4 separate regions of the Homo sapiens genome follow, and regions 2, 3 and 4 are each linked to region 1. The links are contacts of gene promoters, found by promoter capture Hi-C in human tissues and cell types (Jung and others, 2019). All regions are on one chromosome and are shown on one strand. Each heading gives the region's core, a stretch centred on a gene start or on the middle of the fragment in contact. The rest is flanking DNA. Distances are from core to core; before and after follow the strand shown. Region 1 holds the start of SH3GL2 (SH3 domain containing GRB2 like 2, endophilin A1). Region 2 overlaps SH3GL2 (SH3 domain containing GRB2 like 2, endophilin A1). Region 3 overlaps SH3GL2 (SH3 domain containing GRB2 like 2, endophilin A1). Region 4 overlaps SH3GL2 (SH3 domain containing GRB2 like 2, endophilin A1).

The links. The method cuts DNA at HindIII sites, captures the fragments that hold promoters and counts their contacts. A contact is called where the count stands out against the background at its distance.
Region 2: a contact is called between a fragment that was not itself captured here and the fragment with the promoter of SH3GL2 in region 1, in 2 of the 25 tissues and cell types used here (dorsolateral prefrontal cortex and mesenchymal stem cells).
Region 3: a contact is called between a fragment that was not itself captured here and the fragment with the promoter of SH3GL2 in region 1, in 2 of the 25 tissues and cell types used here (IMR-90 fibroblasts and dorsolateral prefrontal cortex).
Region 4: a fragment that was not itself captured here is called in contact with the fragment with the promoter of SH3GL2 in region 1 in 2 of the 25 tissues and cell types used here (H1 embryonic stem cells and dorsolateral prefrontal cortex).

The regions. Positions count from the first base shown.
Region 1 is chr9:17,577,570-17,581,361 of GRCh38, forward strand. It overlaps SH3GL2 (SH3 domain containing GRB2 like 2, endophilin A1), which reads left to right and starts at 1,497. Exons shown (of 9, transcript NM_003026.5): 1 at 1,497-1,718. The coding sequence starts at 1,674. RefSeq lists a silencer at 309-507. The HindIII fragment of the contact is 4,711 bases long and covers 1-3,687 here.
Region 2 is chr9:17,647,971-17,651,707 of GRCh38, forward strand. The region is part of intron 1 of SH3GL2 (SH3 domain containing GRB2 like 2, endophilin A1); the gene reads left to right. Among named protein-coding and RNA genes, the nearest start is that of SH3GL2, 71 kb to the left of the region's middle. The HindIII fragment of the contact is 5,181 bases long and covers 1-3,737 here.
Region 3 is chr9:17,694,151-17,697,792 of GRCh38, forward strand. All of the region lies in intron 1 of SH3GL2 (SH3 domain containing GRB2 like 2, endophilin A1), which reads left to right. Among named protein-coding and RNA genes, the nearest start is that of SH3GL2, 120 kb to the left of the region's middle. The HindIII fragment of the contact is 4,547 bases long and covers 1-3,642 here.
Region 4 is chr9:17,671,468-17,675,477 of GRCh38, forward strand. All of the region lies in intron 1 of SH3GL2 (SH3 domain containing GRB2 like 2, endophilin A1), which reads left to right. Among named protein-coding and RNA genes, the nearest start is that of SH3GL2, 94 kb to the left of the region's middle. The HindIII fragment of the contact is 4,998 bases long and covers 1-4,010 here.

The sequences.
Region 1 (3,792 bases), core at 247-2,746:
GCACTGCTTTAGTCTCACTCTGGATACTGGCTGACAGACCACAGCTTTCTAGAATATTGCGGCCGAGGAAAAGAAAGCTTTGCGGCATCTCATACATCTCATATTGCTGCTGCAGAAGTGACAGTCACTTTTCCTCTTAAACCTCTAGTCAAAACTTGTAACCATGCCTCCACTTAACAAGAGGTTTGGAAAGTGCAATTCTGCCATGTAGGGAAAGGTATATGAACAGTGGTAAGGGCTACCACACTGGAGAATAGCTCCTTTCATCTGCCTCCCTTTGCAGCCTGCGTCCCTAGTCCATGCGCTCTACTGCTCCAGTGCCCACCACTGCTTGACTCTGCCTTTGTGTGTGTCAGTTCACATTATCAAGAAGGACCATGACTGGTAGCTCTACGGATGGAGGACCCTTTTGTAGCAGGTGTTCACCCTGTGCCCAAGCCGCAGTGCCTAGAAGAGTGGGGATGGGTCTGTGGCTCCTATCAGGCTGCAGGAGTTGCGGAGACAGAAAAAGTATTTCTAGGACTCCCATTTGGCCTTGCAGTCTCTACACATCCTTGGCAATTTCTCCCATCTTGGCTTCTCCTTCTTATCACTTTGGTCCACATACGGGGACAGCGTCTAAGTTCTTTCTGACCACCTCCTCAGTCCTAGAAAAACCAGACTTGGTTAAGTACCAGAGCACAGAAGGCATTTAGTGCTGCTCTGCTCCCAAGTCATCTATTAGTTTCACTTTAGCCAGCCATACCTCCTTGGTTACATATGAAGCATCTGTATATAACTTAGTATCATGCTTTTTCACATTATATTTTGATTTTTATCGGACCGGAAACCCTAAATCCACAAGCATAACAACAAGATCACATTTGGGCTTTTTCATTTCTGTAACCAGAGGATTGAACGCTAGTTTTGTAGTAAGACTTCAATTCTATTTATCCGTCCAGGCTTAAGGGTTCCTGTTCTTCTTTTTAAGTCATTAAATTGTATCAGACAAGGGGGAAAACGCGTGTGTGACTTTCCCTAAGGTAAGATGGGCTTAAGGGATATTGAAACCAGGGCAGAGAAATGTTTTCTGTGACCCACCAGTCAGGGCAAGGCATAGAAGGAGCAATGACTTATTCATTAGCCCAGATAGAAGGCCAGTCTTTTTCAGGCTGCGGCGCAGAGACGCCAGGCTCAAAGGGCAGGAGGGCCGTCTGCAGGCAGCGCCGCCGCGGCTACCTGGAAGCCCAGCAAGTCACCTGAGTCCTGCGGGTGCCTGGGCTGCCAATCTGCAGCGACCCGTCCGCAGCCCCCGGGGGCAGGAACACCAACCCCGGGACAGGAGGACGTCCTCGGCCCGCTGACTAGGGATCCGCCAGCGGGTGCCGCTGAGCCACATCCCCGCAGTTGGCGCCAGCATCCAGGTACCGCGCGCCACAGCACCTGCCTGGGCGTTCCCGCGCTTGGGGCGGGGCTTCCCGCGTCCCCTTTAAGAGGCCGCATCACCCGCCCTTGACGTCAGAGTGTTTCTCCGCAAGAGCCCGTGTCCCGCTAGGCTCCGCGCCCTCGCGCCCATAGCCCCGGCGGCGGCACGACCAGAGGCGGCCAGGGGAGCGCGCCGCCCCGCTCGGCCCTCCAGTCCCCCTCCGCCTCCTCCCTCCCGCACAGCAGCCGCCAGCGCGGCCTCCTGCACCATGTCGGTGGCCGGCCTCAAGAAGCAGTTCCATAAAGCCACTCAGGTAAGGCGCGCGGCAGGTGCGTCCCGGGGCAGTCCGGGGCGAAGCTGCGAGGGGCGCGCTCGGCGCTGGCCGTCCGGCGGCAGCTTGGGGAGTTCGGCACCGAGCCTCGCCCGCGCCGGCCGCGCCCCGCCTCGCAAGCCAAGGCGGCGGCTCGGGGCATCCCCGGTCTGGGCGTCCACCCTCGGTCCCCCGCCCCCGGCTTGGTGCGCGCTGCCTTCCCGCGGGTCCCCGGCGTCCTGCCTGGTAGCGCTGCTCGCCGCCCCCGCATCATCTCGCGCCCGTGCTGCAGGAAGGGGACCGCGGCTGCACTGCTGCCGCGGCGCGCAGGTGCCTTGGCGGCGCGGTGGGAGATTATGTAAAGTCGCCTCTTCACGGGTGACCTTGCGGAGTCGGTGCACCCGGCTTTCCCGGGATGTGTTGGCATGAGCGGTGGCCGCACTGGGGGTGGCGGGGCGGAGGCCGGCGGTTTGCGCTCCTCTCCCTTACCCTGTTGTCAGAACCCTCCTTCCCCGCCGCCCGCAGGCTCCAGGGGAATGGAAGGCTGGGGTCTTCCTTTAGGGACCCGCATACATTAACTTTTACCTGGAGAACTCGGTCGTGAAACTCCTTTGAGGCCAGGGCATGACAAACAGTCTGCGGGTCTTAAATATTTCCCTAAAACAACCAAATTGTTGAAGACTTAAAATCATCATGTATTTTAAATTGTTTTTAATAAATCTTTGGCATCTTGGATGTGCCCATTTTTCTTTATGGGGTTAATAAGCTGTGACTGTAATAAAACTGATTAATTTAGATTCTAATAATTAAAATCATTGGACTCAAAGAATTTTACATAGGGGCAAGTAAGCGAATACTTACGCTGTGACCTATTTCTTACATAATGTGTGTGATTACTACTTTTTTATCCTTCTGAAATAGGTTCAAATTTATGGGATCTTTAAGGATTTTGATGACTTACCGCGAAATGTTTTTCATGATTTGGTGTTAAATAGTTTTTCATAGGTTAGCCTTAATTAACGAGCTTTCTCATAATTTCTCGGAAGTAGTGAGGTTTTTCCTAGGCTACCACAGTGGCAGCCTTGTTATGAACCACATCCAGAAAAGGTGAGGGTTGTGTTTTACAGAACCTTGGTTAACTTAGGGTGACAGATGCAGCATGTAATTCCCGTCGTGTGTGTGTTTGCACGCATCTGCATCATCTTCATCACACATTCTTGCCTTTATAGAATCAATTATACCTGTCAACTTAGGAAATCAAGAAAAGTAAGACTATTTCTGTAAAAATGTTTCTTAATGTAATTATTTTTGCTTTTCTATTATAATTGGAGTTATCTGTGACCTCTCTGCCAGACATGTTTATGAAAGTAAGTGATTTGTTTGTTGATGTAGTTTGGAAGGCTTCTAATAACTTTATACTGCAAGTTCTTTCAGGTTTACAGAACCAAGCATATGTGCTGCCCAGGAATTCTGTGGCAGGACTTCTTCGATATTACTAACCTTTTTGATTGCTCTACTGGTCACTTCTCTATAGCATATCTCAGCACTGCGTTTACCAACACATCTTTTTTCCACTTGGATTCTAAAGATTTCTTTTGCAAAGCTTAGTGCCCTCAAAGGCAATTAAGAGTCTTGGCTTTGGAGTGGGAAAGGCTAAGGTTTGAATCCTGCCTCTGCTGCTTCTGACCTTGAGAGAGTATTTAACTTCTGAACCTGTCCATGCTGAAGTGATGATAATTTCCGTTGTCTCTTCAGGGTTGAGGTGAAGAGAAACGAGTGTGTAGAACACACGTATAAAGTGTTCAATAAATTATAGTTATTGACATAAAGGATATTTTTATTAGTATAAAATACTATCCCTTATGCTGTGAAGAAGTTACCCAAGCTAGACCTTTTAGTTTTTCCAACTTAAAAAATAGAGCGCTCCATTTCCGCTAAATCTTGAAGTTCTGTGTCGCCCTAAAGTGTAGAAAAAATAATTTAAACTGCGTTAGGAAAGAACTTAAAAGGTTGGAGAAGGTCGGCATGTGATGCGATACGGTTAATGTTTATCACACCGAATCCAAATGCAGAATCA
Region 2 (3,737 bases), core at 825-3,324, 71 kb after region 1:
TGTGATGATGCACTTCTATTTAATGGACAGTAAATATATATTCTCTTCCTTGTGATTTATTAATATTTTCTTTCTGTAGCTTACTTTATTGTAAAAATACAGTATATAATACATATAACATACAAAATGTGTTCATAACTGTTTGTGTTATTGGCAAGTCTTCCAGTTAACAGTAGGCTATTAGTAGTTAAGCTTTGGAGAGGTCAAAAGTTATGTGTGGATTTTCAACTACACAAGGGGATTGATGTCCCTAATCTCCATGTTGTTCAAGGATTCCACTTGTATATAGAGAGATCTGTGCTTGAGGGAAAAGAACATGATCAAGATTAGGGGAATGCATGTACAAAGGTGCTGTACAAAGATGAGATTAACGCTGTTAGGTAGCCAGTTTATATCTACACAAAGGTACATAGGAAGAGTAAAATGTTGGGTTGGAAAGGAATTTGGGGCCAAATCTTACAGATCTTCAAGGCCTGGCAAAGAAGTTTGGCTTTGTCTATCTTTTGGAAAGCCATTGTTCTGAGTTAACTCACTCAAAAACATCCAGGGTTTATTTCTTAGCATTGGTAAATGAATTCTTTAGACACTGAAAAAGGAGGGTTGCCTTTGAATATTTTCTTGTTGTCATTATTATTATAATAAATTTATTTTCTAAAATGTACTGAGGTAGTGACTTGACAGAATCAAAGCATCTCAGAAAATGAGTCATTGGCTTCTTTCTAATAGCTGCTTAGGATTCTAAATGTTTGTGTTGGCAGATCTCACATAATTTTCTTAAGTCTGTGTGAAATGTTCAAAAGAGTTTCCTATGATAATGTTTGGTTCATTCAGGTTGAAAATGATGAAAACAACTTCTAGAAAGAGATGACAGTGTAAGTTACATCTGGCAACCTAGAAACAAAGTTCTGTAGACTACTCATCATATCAATCATTTTTTCCCAAATTATTATGGTGAAACCTAGATACAAAGAGCACTGTTCCATCAGGGATCTTATCTATCTCTGAATAGAACTGTGTTTCCTGTATGATGTTGTGTGTGAGTGCATGTGTATAAAAATAAGTCTGTCAATGTGGGCTTTTTTTCCTTTTTCTCTTAACTCAAGGATTAATCGTAAGGTTCTCTAGTGTACATTTTTCATTATTGTTTTGAGAAAGAGTCTTACCCTGTCACCCACAGTGGACAGTGACATGATCTCAGCTCACTGCAACCTGCGCCTCCTGAGTAGCTGGAATTACAGGCATGTGCCACAACACCCAGCTAATTTTTTGTATTTTTAGTAGAGGCAGGGTTTTGCCGTGTTGGCTAGGCTGGTCTCGAACTTGTGACCTTAAGCGAACCACCTGCCTTGGCCTCCCAAAGTGCTGGGATTACAGGCGTGAGCCACCATACCTGCCCTATCGCGTACATTTTTAAAGGCACAATTGAAACCAGTGTTCTGAATTAAACCACTCACATTAGCTTACAAATACTACATTCTGATTTGGTTGGATCTCTGTTTTCAGTATAATTTAAGTGAAAAAAATCATAATTGTATGATAAAGATAAATCGATGTTACCAAAGTATATTTAAAAGGGCATTGGTAAATACCACAAAACGTATTTTCTGTTTTAAATGGAAAAAATAGTTTACTATGTGCCTATTTAACTTACACAAGGGAGTTTGCTTTATTAGAGTAACTGCAAATGAGGCAACAAAATTTTTCTTTTGGCAAATACACGTATTAGGTCTCATTTCAGGTTTGAGGAAAATAGTGAATATTTTTAGTTATTTTGAATACAAATATGTAATATTCTTTTTCTGAGAAGCCTAAGTAGTTTTTCTTGCTATGCCTGAATTTTGGCAGATAAACGTGTCAAACCAATTTGTTATACACCTGTTGTAACAGAAGTGACAAAGAAAAATCACAGTTCAGAGATTTGACAGGTTTGTACTGAAATGGTGTTTAGTATATCTAGGTGTTCTATCTAGAAAAAAAGTATAGAATGGCTCAACTTTAAATTGATTAATCTAAAAAGAAAAGCCTTCATAACCACCAGCTTTTATTTAGTGTTCCACATATTTCTAATATTCCAACAAGGATATCTTCCCTGGAGAGAGTAGAGTTGAGATCATACCAACTCTGATTAGAATTTTCACTTAAGAACAGCAGTTGAGATGATGTTATCTACATTCAGATTCTCAACTTAGTTATGGAATAAAATATTGCACATGCTGTGTTTGATAAAAAGTAAGTGAAATGTGAGTATTGTCAGGATTTTACTTAAACTAGAAATAAATGATATCCTTGTAACAGTTTGAAGTACACAAAAGAACGTGATATATCCTCTTTCTCAAGCCTTAATAATCATGGTATGGATTGGTTGAAGATTATTTGAGGTGATATCCACTTGAAGTTTTTTTGTTTGTTTGTTTTTTTTAAGACGGAGTCTCGCTCTGTCACCCAGGCTGGAGTGCAGTGGCGCAATCTTGGCTCATGGAGACCTCTGCCTTCCGGGTTCAAGCGATTCTCCTGCCTCAGCCTCTTGAGTAGCTGGGATTACAGGCGTGTGCCACCACGCCTGGCTAATTTTTGTATTTTTAGTAGAGACAGGGTTTCACCATGTTGGCCACTGCTGACCTCCTGATCCGCCCGCTTCAGCCTCCCAAAGTGCTGGGATTACAGGCGTGAGTCACCACGCTCGGCCTTGTCTTGAGGTTTTTATGGCTGAAGCATATTTTTGTAAATCATGTTATTGGTGATATGATGGCTAAAGCCGACCTGAATACATTATACAGTCTTTCCTATTGTGAACATATTAATTAACTTGTGAGATTGCTCATGATAATTCTTTTTAGGGCATCTTGAGACTGCCTTCTGCTGCATTAGGAGAGTTTATTGTTTTATGAAATACATGTTTTCTGCCCATCACTGGTCATCTTATGTCCTTAATGCTAGAACAATAGGAATTTTCCCAGGGCTGAATTCTGGCACCATTTCATACTAGACCTTTTCTCTGTTTCTCCCCTTTTCCTTGTGTGTGTGTGTTTGCACGTGTGCACACATGTATGTGTGGTGTGTGTGTGTGAGAGAGACATAGAACACCTATTTTGTTTCTTGGCTTTGCTTTTTATTGTTTTTTCATTAGTTTTTACTGTTCTTAATTCCTAAGACATAATGAATTTTAATATCTGGCAGGGTAAACTTTCAGCTTTTGCTTTATTTTCTTGAAAAAAATGTCTAAGCCATTTTTTTCTCCATGTATATTTTTAGATTTACTTTGTTAAGCTTCCTCAAATTCCTGATGGGATGTAATAGGAAATCCTCTGAGACTATAAATTAATTTTACAGGGATTTGACATCTTTAAAATGTTGACTCATCTCATCCACGAGTATCTTCTTTCTGCATTTATTTAGGGAATTTTAAATGTCCTTTAAAGTTTTGACATTTTCTCCTTGAGAATCTTGTGTGATCTTTGTTAGATTAATTCCAAGATGTATTGTTTTTGTTGCTCTTATAATTAATGCTGTGTTTGCCTTTTTTCTGGTTATTGCAGAGGAATACTCTTCACTTTGTGTATATTGGTTTTATATTTGACAGCTTTGCAGAATTGTGTAGTTAGTTCTCCATTACCTTATTAGCTGTATATCTTTGTTTTAGCAGTTTGTGGGTGATAAATTCTTTCTGCTTTTGTCTGTTTAAGGAAGTCTTTATTTTGCTTTTTATTTTGAAAGAGATTTGTGTTGGCTAAAGAATT
Region 3 (3,642 bases), core at 618-3,117, 120 kb after region 1:
AAAGAAGTACCTGAGACTGGTAATTTATGAAGAAAAGAGGCTTAATTGACTCACAGTTCCACAGGCTGTCCAGGAAGCTTGTCTTGGGGGGCCTTAGGAAACTTAAAACCATGGCAGAAGGTGAACCGGAAGCAAGCACATCTTCACAATGGCGGAGCAGGAGAGAGAGAAAGAGAGAGCAAATCTTGGAATATACTAAGAGTCTGGTGTTGATTGCCTATTTTTTAATGCTAATAAGTAAGTGTTCTTTTTCTCTGGGGGATTTCTTAACTGTTCTATTGTAAAAGCAACTACTATAATTGCCTTTTATAATACCCAGATCGCTGGATTTGCTATATACTAGACTTGATGTACCTGAAGCTGCTAACAGGATTGCCTGTCATTTAGCTTTCAGAATTCAATTTATAAAATGTCATTATTTTTCCCCTTCCACTGCAATACTAGAGCTGAAGACAGACAGGGAAAAGCAAGCAAATATTTGAGAGTGTGAATGGTATAAGTTGAGGGTATGAATGTTGGAAATGAACATATTCACCTCTAAATAAAGTGAGAGAAACCGCTATTCTTTCTAAATTTTCCATGTGCCAGTAAAATGGGAATGGTGATTTCCTTAAGGTATTGCTCTGGAGAATTTAAATAATTGAGTTAAATGTCAAACTTCACATTTAGAGAGCCTACTAAAACCTTCACAAGTGGGGGCTTACAGACTAGAGTTTTATTTTTATTTTTATTTTTTCTGTAGGGAATGGAGTAGGGGAGGCAGTGGCACACTTAGGTGATACCTTGCACAGCAGTCACAATGTTGAAATTTGAAGAAATCTAGTGAAAATTATAAAATTTTCACTAGACATGAATAAATCATTATGAAAGAATATAAAAATAGCCAGAGATCACTAGAGGGGAAAGAGGCACTGCAAAAGTTACTGGAGGGAATACAAGAGAAGAAAATAATTAGAAAACAGTCAGTAAGAAATGTCATCCCATTCTGTCCCCTGGCTGCTTTTTGTGGCTTTGTTCAGTGGGTGAAAATTCTGGAGTGTTTATTGGTGTCTTGTAGCATAAGATGAAATATCTTATCAAGATATTTTCATTTTCTCAAAGTGAAATGCGATCCCTTTAACTTCTTAGGATGACAGGTACATGTGGAAGCATCAGAGAGGAACTTGGGATCCCACGAGCTAGCCTCTGCTTCATACACAGTGGAGTAGATGCCTGAGGTTGTCAGCAAATATTGAAGATTTTTATTTCCAGGGGGTTAGAAACTTCACGTAGCTTCTCTGCTCTGCACACATAAGGAGTAAGTGGATTATTTTCCCTGAGTCAGTAAGGTTTTCGGTGTCACATAATCTCAGGGGAACAAATGCAATTGCTTAGATCTCAATATACTCCTCAGATGGCAACTTTGAGGAGGTAACCAGGAGGTATCTGCACTCCCTCTGTGCTCGCCTGGGGCCTTCTGACTTTCTCTGTAAAAAGCCCTTTCTGTATTGATGCTCCCGGGTGGTAGTGGGTTGGATGGCCATTACATAATCACAACCTCTTTTTTTCAGTCAGGGTAGCTATTATGCAGAGAGCTAGGAGTGGATTACTTCTTGGCAGGAATAAGCACAGAAAAATCTATCCAGATTTTTTTAAAAATGGAAACATTGTGAAAAAAATCTTGATGTCTCTGAAATTGGAGGATGGTATTTTATCTGAGGAACATGGGTAGGGAATGTTGGGGTCATTTCTTAGCTCTGACCTTAGTAAGTCATAGAGGCCTTTTTATACTGATGTTGCATTTTTAAAAGGCATCTTGACATGATGGGAGAAAAACAGCAGACCAAAAGAAGGCAGACCTGATAGTTCTAGTTCAGGCTGTGTTGTTGTCTGAGTTGTCCTGCAAGCTGATACAAATCACAACTTCCCCGAGCCTCTCTTTTCTCATCCCTTCAGTGAAGGCCCTCTGTAATACCCAAGTCCTTTCCAGTTCTGAAGTCTGTTCAAAGTGGGGGCAGCTGGAGGACTCAGGGAGGTCCACACTAAAGAGGACTTTTTTTTTCCTTTTTTAAAGAGAACATTTTTAAAATCTAGCTTTATAACTCAAGGATATTTTAAATACAGATAACTATTACATTTGTATTTTGTAATGAATATTTCAGATTTATGTTTGTGCCTTGAAGCTAATTGACTGTGAAGAAAACGGTTTTATAAACAAAGCCAAAGAGAAAGTATTCCTGGATGTATTACAGCAGACAAATAATCACTTTACTACTATGGTATATTAGTCCATTCTCACACTGCTATGAAGAAATACCTGAGATGGAGTAATTTATGAACAGAAGAGGTTTAATTGACTCACAGTTCCACATGGCTGGGGAGGTCTCAGGAAACTTACAGGCCTGGCAAAAGGTGAAGGGGAAGAAAGGCACCTTCTTCACAGGGCGGTAGGAAGGAGAAGTGCCGAGCAAAGGGGGAAAAGCCCCTTAAAAAACCATCAGATCTCATGAAAACTCACTCACTATAATGAAAACAGCATGGGGGAACTGCCCACATGATTCCATTACCTCCTACTGGGTCCCTCCCGTGACACATGGGGATTATGGGAACTACAATTGAAGATGAGATTTGGGTGGGGACACAGCCAAACCATATCACATAGCTTTGGATTATCCCTTCCTTTTTTCGATTTTTCATAGCCCATTTTTTGTGGATGCTAAAACCAAAATTGCTCTCCACATGCATAGCATATCCATAACCCTCTTACCTTCCATCACTTTCTGGGACTTGTTCTTATTTTAGAGTGACTTTTAAAGACTGAACATGCAGAAGCCTCATTGCCTCTTAGAAATAAAGGATGCCCTTCTGGGAGGATGTACTAAGTCCAGTGTTGGAACCTTGATACTGTCCTGGGCTGACATTTCCTCTTTAAGAATCAGCTCCCTCACACCACAGGGTATTAGAGAGGCCACATGGGCTGTGAAAACCGGGCACTCAGGGCTGGATAGATTGATTGCTAACAAACATATAGTCTGCTTTCTTCAGAATTAGTAGCTGGCTTTGCACCTTCAACTTGAGCATGAGCTCAAATGCATTTCTTTTTTTTTTTTTTAAGGCGGAGTCTCACTTTTTCACCCAGGCTGGAGTGCAGTGACATGATCTCGGCTCACTGCAAACTCCGCCTCCCGGGTTCAAGGGATTCTTCTGCCTCAGCCACCTGAGTAGTTGGGATTACAGGTGCACGCCACCATGCCTGGCTAATTTTTGTATTTTTAGTAGAGACAGGGTTTCACCATGCTGGTCAGGCTGATCTCCAACTCCTGACCTCGTGATCCGCCCACCTTGGCCTCCCAAAGTGCTGGTATTACAGGTGTGAGCCACCGTGCCTGGCCTCAAATGCATTTCTATACAGGTCCAGTCAGAGTAGTGGCCAGTCCCACTCATGTGTTCAAAATATAACCTGAGGAATGCAAAGCAACATGTTTAGTCTTTTGTCTTAATAATTCCTCTATTAGCAACTTCATTAGACATCCACTAGTACATAACTTTGTCACTGAAACCATATCATTGCCCCCCGAATAGCCTTCTAGACTCCTAACCTTGGAATGCACCAAGGAATATTTAAACTGTCTCATAGTTTTGCAGAAGCAGAAAATGCTAGGA
Region 4 (4,010 bases), core at 1,176-3,675, 95 kb after region 1:
AAAATAACTAAAACAGTATAATTAGATTGATTGTATCACAGAGGATAAATGCTTGAGTGGATGGATATTCTATTTTCCATGGTACGATTATCACTCATTGCATGCTTGTATCAAAACATCTCATGTACCCCATACATATACCCATCTATTATGTACCTACAAAACTAAAAAAAATTATAAAAGCAAAAAACAAAAACGAAAAAAGCCCTTGACTTTCAGAAGCCTCTGACTAACCTTTGCAGTATTGTGCCTCTGTTCTACACATAATTAACTGTGTTGAAACTGAGAATTAAAGCTGAAATGTAATTTCACAAACTTAATAAATGGCCTTTATAACTGATAATGACATCTTCGTTGCCTTGAGACAACAACCAAGGACTTGATTTCCTTGAGATAAGGACTTTGGTTGAATCAGTATGTCTTTAAGTATTTAATCTTGTCTCATAATAATTGTGTTACCTCAACAAAGATTGTACTCATACCTTGACAAATGAAACCATACCAGTAAATTAATTCTATTTAAGTCAGAGTAGAATCAACTAGCAGTTACCCACTGACTAATATCAGAGCCCAGTGTGTTACATGAAACTAAATTGGAAACCGACCTCTGGAACTCAATGTTTTGTTTTGACCTAAATCTACTCTGCAGTGTGAGGTAAATACAATTGTTTAAAGATTCTTAAGCTGTCGATGTTGAATTTGCTTATTTTGTATTTAATTAAAAAGGTGCATACAGATATGTATGTAGTGTGGTTTGGCAATAGTTAAAATTGGGAGCAGGAAAGGAAAATTTTAGAAATCTTGGTTTCCAGGCAACCAAACACACAATATCATATCTGTGTACCACTTGCTTCATGTTAAGATGCCCTAAATGTAAATAATTGATGGAGCAGAGACTAAAAGAACCATTATAGTCAGCTGAATTCCAAGGTCCTTGACCTGAGCTCATTAAGCTCAGGTTAGAGAATAGGGTGGCTGAATTTTCTTAGAAAAAGAGCCCAGATAATATCTGGCATGTACATAGATCTTGAAAATTAGCTGGACTTAAGTAGGCATTTAGTTTTCAAGCTTTAGTTTAGTGAATGTGGGGATCCTGATCTGTAATCCTTCAGGAGGCAAATGAGCTGCAACAGAGCCATGGTTTCTCTCCCTCTTTCTGGGAGCCACCCACCCCCTTCACCCAATACAGAGGACCTAAGGAGTGATTGATTTTATAAAAGATACAGAGTAACACACTCTGTATATTCATCAGACCGTGTAAATAACTAACTTCTAGACCTCTCAGATATAAATACATCTCTTTTTACTTCAGAAGCTTTCCATGGGTGATTTCATCCATGTTCGTGGTTTTAACTCTTGTGCTTATATGAATGACTTCCAAATGCATACCTCCAGCCTCATTCTGTTTCAGAATTAGATTTTCGTACATTCATAGGCCCAACTCAAAATGTCTAAAGTGAATTAATCTCTTAGCTGTCTTCTCCTCCAGAGAAGACTACTGCCTGCTCTGCTCTGTCATGTCTTGGGTAGTATTTGGCAGTATCACTCGGCTCTTTGATTTCTTGCCCTGTTACCCTTACACGTGGCTGTTTGCCATGGTCTGTCAATTCTGCTTCAATAGTCCTCCCTAATAAATCTTCCCTCTCTTCTACTCTTAGAGTCTCTCACCTTGACTTTTTTTTTGTTTGTTTGTTTGTTTTTGAGACAGTCTCACTTTGTCACCCAGGCTGGAATGCAGTGGTGCGATTATGGCTCACTGCAGCCTTGACCTCCTGGGCTCAAGCAATCCTCCCACTTCAACCTTCCAAGTAGCTGGGACTACAGGCACGCACCACCATGCCTAGTTTTTAATTTTTTTTTTTTTTTTATAGAGGCGGGGTTTCATCATGTTGCCGAGGCTGGTCCCGAATGCAGGCTCAAGCGATCTGCCTGCCTCCCAAAGTGCTGGGATTATAGGCATGAGCCACCACGCCTGGCCTTCACTTTGATCTTGACTCATCTCCCTGTCCCTGATCTTTGCCTGCTCAAGTCCATCTTCTATACGCAACCATGATTTTCTTTAGAAACACATTTCTGACCACATTGTTCCCCTTTAAACACTTGGATGATGCTTTGTCACCAGCAGGATAAAGTCTGAGCTCTTTGACTTGACCTACTAGCCAGCCATGATCTCCTTGTCCATCTTGATGTCTTGCCATTCCCCAAACATAACTTTAGAATACAGCAATTCAGAACTGCTTTTAGTTCCCTGAAACCACCATAATGCTTCACACACCCTCACCTGTGATTGTGCTGTTCTTTCTTACTCACCCTTGAGTCTTTATTAATTCTTTTGCTTTCAAGACTTTGCTCTGGCTTTTCTAGGGTGCCTCCCTTGATTTCTTTTGCTCACCCATCTGCTGCCATCCCAGATTATGTCAATTGACTCTACCCTAAGGTCTCCATAGGGCATCCTGTGTCTATCTCTATGATAGATCCTTGCCCACTTTATTGAATTCATCTTTAAGCTCCTTGAATGGAGGGTCTGTGTTTTATTTCTCTTTGTTTCCCTCTTTCCTTGTGTGGCTCTTGAAATCATTATGAATTGATCTGAGCACTTCCTTATGGAGGCATGCAGAATTAACAGCATAATTGTGGCAAGAAATGTCTTTGCCTTTTCTTTTTAATGCAAATGAGAGTTAGTAACATGTTCTTTGTATTTATCTTGGGTATCCATTGCTGACTACCAGATCACCAGATCACCCCAAAACTAAGCAGCTTAAAACAATAAACATTTTGTGTGTATGTGTGTGATTTTATTTATTTATTTATTTTTTTAAGACGGAGTCTCTCTCTGTTGCCCAGGCTGGAGTGCAGTGGTGTGATCTCAGCTCACTGAAACCTCCGCCTCACGAGTTCAAGCGATTCTTTTGCCTGAACCTCCTTAGTAGCTGGGACTACAGGTGTGGCCCACCATGCCTGGCTAATTTTTGTTTTTTTAGTAGGGACAGGGTTTCACCATATCGCCCAGGCTGTGTCAAATTCCTGACCTCAAACAATCTGCCCACCTTGGCCTCCCAAAGTGCTGGGATTACAGGTGTGAGCCTGCCCAAAGCAATGAACATGTTATTTGTTCATGATTTTGTTGGAAAATCATGGGCTCATGATTGAGTTGGGCTCAGCTGGATGTTTCTTCTTTTTGTCTTTTTAGGGGTCACTCATGGGTCCTCATTCATCTGGTCGCCCAGCTGAAGGTAGAAGGTCTAGAATGACCTTACTCACATCTCTGGCAATTTGTTGCTGGCTGTCAGCTCTGCCTCCCTCTCTCATCCTTAAGGGGACTGGCCAGGGTTTCTTTCCATGGCAGTCTCAGAGCAGCAAGAGACTAAGGGTGAAAGTTGCAAGGTCTTTAGAGGCCCAGGCCCGGGAAGTGTACAGTGGCAGTTCATTAACATTGTCTTGGCCAGTGCAAGTGACCAGACCAGCCCAGATTCAAGGGATGGGGAGTAGACTTCATCTAGATAGGAGGAGCCACCAGGTTACATTGCCAAGGGGTGTGCATACAGGGATGGGAGGAATGTGATTGTTTGTTGCTGTCAGCACAGTATACCTTACTAGAACTGAATTGACGTCTCTACTTTTTGAGCATTTTTTGTACATTGTTGTGGTATTTCTTTGTGGTAGTCATCTCACATGCTTTAAACTTCGTATGTCTTATTTCCTTCCTTAGTAGGTCACATTGGGAGCTCATCTTCCCCTTCACTTAGGAGACAGTGCAATAAACATTTGTATCTCTCATAGCACATACCAGATTTTTAAAATTTGGCGGGTTTTAATTCAGGACTTAAGGGGTGAATTATCTTATTAAATAAATAACTCAAGTATACAGGGAAGTGAAAGACAGTCATTTACCTAATGCTCTGAACATCTTTCTTGAGATAAAGTAGTGCTGTGAACTGATAAAGTTCACATAAAGCTAAAGAAATTCCTTTATGTATTAATATTACAGGCATTTATGTAATATCAGTATC